Regions from separate parts of the Homo sapiens genome. Here region 1 is linked to region 2. Evidence: promoter capture Hi-C in 16 types of primary human blood cells and fetal thymus (Javierre and others, 2016). All regions are on one chromosome and are shown on one strand. The core of a region is centred on a gene start or on the middle of the fragment in contact, and the rest is flanking DNA. Distances in the headings are between cores, read along the strand shown.

Evidence for each region. The method cuts DNA at HindIII sites, captures the fragments that hold promoters and counts their contacts. A CHiCAGO score of 5 or more calls a contact.
Region 1: a fragment that was not itself captured here is called in contact with the fragment with the promoter of CSTF2 in region 2 in 2 of 17 cell types (activated CD4 T cells and total CD8 T cells); the score reaches 5.7 in activated CD4 T cells.

Annotation. Positions count from the first base shown.
Region 1 is chrX:101,934,719-101,937,418 of GRCh38, forward strand. No RefSeq gene overlaps it. Among named protein-coding and RNA genes, the nearest start is that of ZMAT1, 4.0 kb to the left of the region's middle. The HindIII fragment of the contact is 2,051 bases long and covers 258-2,308 here.
Region 2 is chrX:100,819,079-100,821,778 of GRCh38, forward strand. CSTF2 (cleavage stimulation factor subunit 2) reads left to right here and starts at 1,313. Exons shown (of 14, transcript NM_001325.3): 1 at 1,313-1,396; 2 at 2,449-2,527. The coding sequence starts at 1,339. RefSeq lists enhancers at 985-1,044, 1,055-1,104, 1,385-1,544. The HindIII fragment of the contact is 13,366 bases long and covers 1-1,419 here.

The DNA.
Region 1 (2,700 bases), core at 33-2,532, 1.1 Mb after region 2:
TCCTTCTGATATGGAGGGATCTCTCAAAAACATTGTTTTTTGAAATATGAATCACAATCCACTTAGGTAAGAAATATTCATTCAGAATCTCTGGAGGAGTGGGCATCACTCAAGATTCAGTCAGCAAAAAAGAAACTACACTAGGTATTTCAAACAGAAAATATTTAATGTAGAATATCAGGTACTTAAAAGAATCAGAAAGGTTAAAGAAGTAAAATCCAGGAGACTTACGCAGATAAGGTCATCTGGCAGTTGGAAGCTTTTTCATCCTCGTCTATGTTCTCTCCTTTGTTGCAGAAGCTGGAATCCTGTGAATTACATTTCCTAAACTTCTTGCCAGCAGGATTCTGAATATGGTTTAGGTATCACCAATGCTATGTATTTGTATGATATTTTTTAAATAGAAAGGAAATAAAAACTGTTCTTTATGTGGAATCTGGCAGATATAAAACAAATTTTTTTTCAGACCCTAGCATTCTTCTGTAAGTCTTGTACTCAAAGGCTTTGGAGGATCTGTGAGATTAGCAGTGGTTTTCTGCAGTTCCCTGACCTCTGTCTGACAGTAACAACTATATCAGTCAACAAATATATATTAAATTATGGAATTACTTTGTCCTTCTTAGGATCCACGGAAAATTCTGTCTCTGCCACTTTAACAGTAAAAAGAAGTGGTAGGATAATGCACAAAATAAAATAAAATTATTAGTTAATTTTCTCCCCATCCTTCAGCTGCATTTGGTGACATGCCATAACATGAAAATGCCACCAAACCTCAGTCATGCACTGTGACAATAAGCACACACTTCCCTTTCCCTCCTCTTATACTTATCATTGCTCTCAATGACAGTAATGTTATTAAGTGAATGCCAATGTAATTTATCTCACAGGAAAGAGGAGGTGGAATATAGCACAGAGTAGCAATTAAGGAAAGCCTGCTATGGGCCAGATGTTTCCTAGAATTTCCCAGTCTTCTCACAAAAGTGATGTTATATTGGGCTCATTAATTCCATTTAAAAACGCAAAACTCAGTCTCATGAGTGTAAATAACTTCTCCATGGTTCTTTACTTATTGATTAAAATGGTCTGTTTATATCATTGACCCACAGGGAGGAGACTGTATTAATTGAAATGAATTTCAACTACCAATCCCCCAAATCATAGAAAGGAAACAAGGGTGGGATTAGGGGAGGGAAGTTGCGTGTAAGGTAGGGGTAGAGGTGCTAAAAAGAAATGAGAGAATATTTTTGCATATGTGAGAAATCAGCAAAAAACAAAAAGCATACCAGTGGTCATTTCACTATATTTGCAGTGAAATATAAAATACCTCATTTGGAATAATATGGGGAAATTGAAAAGCCATTATCAACAAACACAATACATTTAAAGGCATCAGAAAATGGGAGAAATAATCCAAACAGAATTTAATAGCATATAAGTAATATGACTGACATAGGCATGAATCTGACTAGGTATAATAGTAATGTTTAATTTTATTAACAAATGATTCAAAAGTGAGAAGCAATGGCAAACATCCAAAGTTGTTTAACAATACTAAAATTAAAGACAAATAAAAAGATACATTGAGATATACAAATAATCACCTCCCAAAGGCACTACCACTTAACACTATTACATTGACAATTAAGTTTCAACATATGAATTTTGGGGAACATTCAGACAATAGCAGTATGTATAATGTGACTCAATTTTGAACAAAAATGTATTTGCACATATGAACATATAGCCTTGGAATTATATATAAACACACATAAAATATATCTGGAAAGTATATATGAAAATACTATGAGTAGATAGCCTGTGGTAAGTCAGGCTTAAGATGAAACTATATGCTAATTAATGCATATATTTCCCCATTGTTTCAGGATTAATAGTGATAGATAAAATTACAATAGTACAGGATGTACCTGGTAGGGAATGGAAGTTATAGAAATTTATCTTTATTGATATGAAATGTTGTCAAATGTATATACATACATATATTTAAATGAAAAAGAAGTTATACAGAACTTTTATAAAAATAGATCTGTGTATGCCTAATGTATTTGTCTCATAGTGTACACTTTCATATATTCTCATTCTTGTTCTCTGCTCCCTACCCTCATCACAGACACACGCACATGTTGTCAGCCTAGAGAGGGTCTGAAGGAAATATCCTAGCATGTGATTTCGTATCCAGATCTATGCCAGAATCACTCTTAATGTTTCCTTTCTATGTAAACATCTAGAAAGTTCCAGAACATTCTCACTGTTTGACTTTAACCATAGGGAAGTGTCTTCCTTTAACCTAAGCTTCTTTATAATTGGTTAAAGGAAGAATGTAGTTAGACATTGGTCACTTAATCATTCTGTGGAGTATGGAGTCGGTGAACGATTTCATCACTCCATTTTCCTTTGTTTCATGTGCCTTTCTGATCTCTGATTTTTATATTTTATGTTATTCATCCTCTTTATATCGCCATGCAGGTCTTGCTTTAAAAGGCATCAACTTTCCTTCCAGGTGGTGTCTAGAGTTGTTCTTTTGGATAAAAACTGTTCCCCGCATTCAAGTGACAATGAAGATAAATAAAAGTAATTTGACATGTAATAGTGTATATTAGATTTTTAAAATTTAAGACTGATCCTAAACCTAGCTAATAATCATCTTCTGGATGTAAAGAACATCAGAATAAATGTCATTGT
Region 2 (2,700 bases), core at 63-2,562:
CAAATGGGACTCTAGAGTCATGGAAATGGGTATACTCTTCTCAAACTTTCCATCTTTACCAGAATTACTTCTTAAAGTGATATGCTTCATGGTGTAAACTAGCACTTATTAATTTTTTCTAAATATTTATCATATTTCATATACTTTTATTTTGGAGATGGAGTTTCGCTCTTGTTGCCCAGGCTGGAGCGCAATGGCAGATCTCGGATCACCGCAACATCCATCTCCCGGGTTCAAGCGATTCTCTGGCCTCAGCCTCCTGAGCAGCTGGGATTACAGGCATGCGCCACCACGCCCGGCTAATTTTGTATTTTTAGTAGAAAAGGGGTTCTCCATGTTGGCCAGGCTGGTCTCCAACTCCCGACCTCAGGTGATGCGCCCGCCTCGGCCTCCCAAAGTGTTGGCATTACAGGCATGAGCCACCGCGCCCGGCCCATATACTTTTAATACATGTGGAATTAATAAAAACGTCCATGCCTCCAATTCCGTGGCTATTTTACCGTCTTCCTTTTTCGGACAAGTCCCTCAAAGGTAGCGCTCTTGGCTCCTTCCTTTGCTTATCCCCTAACCCTGTCCTCCTGAGGTGCCCCCTGGATTTCCTCCAACCCCGGCAGGGTCTGCCTTTCCGGGATGATACAACGACCTGCCCTGCATGCCATATCCCAGGCGCGTGGGCACCAAAGTGTGGAAAAACCGATGAATGACGTTTTCTGTTTCCGATACTCTGCCTGCCAGAATCCCCTGCCGCACCGCCCCACCACGAAGCACATGGAACCCACGGACTACACGAGGACAGAGGTCTGTTCTCCCTTTACCTCTCCCATTTCTTTAACTATGCTTCTCTCGGCTGGCATGCCCTTTCCTCATCTCACTCCACACACGAACAGGTTTAGCAAATAATATGCACGCTGCTGGGACGGGCCCAAGCATTTCCCTCCCTTGATAGGGCGGAACTAAAATGCAAGCCCCACAGTTGTCAGCAAAGGACTTCCCTGTTACCATGGTAAAGCCGCTGCGCCTTTATTGTGGTTGAGGAGTACTTGCATCAACCTAAGAGAAAATTAATAAGAAGGAAGTCTGCAGGCTGAAACCCTTCAAATTAGCCTGGACTCGCCTGCATCTGGCTCGGAACAGAGTTAATCTCAGGAGTGAGAATATAGCCCTCCGGTGGACGCAACTCGCGCCTGCGGCTAACAGAATGTCTCCAGGGGAGGGGCTCTGCGTCCGTTCCGCCCAGGCCCTTCCGGCTCACGCGCCGTACGGAAGCGTGCTCAGCGCTGGGCTTGTGCTCCGTACGGAAGTGTGCTTTGGCGCACCGGAAGCCGACTCAACAGAGCTATGGCGGGTTTGACTGTGAGAGACCCAGCGGTGGATCGTTCTCTACGTTCTGTGTTCGGTGAGAGGAATTCGTTGTAGTCAAGCTTCGGGGAGGGACTCCCCTCTGCACCTTCTATCTCATGAATCGCTACCGGAGCCGCTGACGGTTCGGACGTGCAGTTCTCCCTGCTTATCCTGTAGGGCGTCCAACCTGGTGGACTCATGAGCAAAGAGATATTCCCATTCTGCCGAGGTCTCGTAGGCTTTCCGCAATATCAGTGGGGAAGTTAGACTAGCGTTCAGCTTCTGTGCGTTTCTCCTTTCATGAGCTTCAATTATTCTCTAGAGGAGAAGGCTCACGGTAACAGCTCCTCACTGTCCCGTACTACTTCTCATCCTCTGCCCCAGAATACAGACTATATGCTGAGGGTATAGATCCTAGTGTCCACTTACTGTCCTCTCCTAAGGACTTTCATCCTTTGCTTTTTATCTGTAACATTTTAGTGCATCAATAGTGGTAGCGGCCACCTGGTGTCCTGAGATGGCTTGTAAGTGAATGAATGAATGAACTATTAAGATCTCCTCAGAGGAATTTTAAAAAGGATCGAAACGATTCTGAATTATCTTTTTGGCTGAAATAAGTTGTTTTTAAAAATACGTGTGATTATTTTAGAGTACCATTTGAAAGGGACATGACAAAGTAGTTCAGAATACTTTTTAAACATCTTTCACTACATTCATCGTCATTCTCCCTTAAATGTTGTATGTGTGGAAATACATAGGAACCTGTTTTAAAAATTATATTAAATAACATTGATATTTTTTGTAGTCACTGATGAGACTTGCAGATCTTTAGGTAAATACCAGTGCCAAAGTATTTATTTGCACCAAAGTTAAGGAAAATCTAACACGTGTCAGATCAGTCTGAGAACTAACATTTGAGAGTACCTACACATTTTGTATTTAGTTTCAGTGGTATATTTCCTTTGTTAAGAGGTCTGAAGAAATACAATGGAATTGGGATTGGAGAACACTATTTTGAGTCTTATATTTGATGATATAAGTTTACTTTCTCACTAAAGATCTATGTTATAAACTCAGAATTTTAATGTTACCTATTTTCTTCCTTAGTGGGGAACATTCCTTATGAAGCTACTGAAGAGCAGTTGAAGGACATCTTTTCTGAGGTTGGACCTGTTGTTAGTTTCAGGTGAGATCCCCTTTTCCTTCATGGTGGGAGCTTCTTAAAAATCACCACAGATTTGGCTCTTAGTAATAATGGCAGGTTTTCTTTACTGGTGACTTTTCACATACATTTTGTTCTTGTAACAGCTTTATTGAGATATAATTGATACACTATACAATTGACATTTATTCTTACCT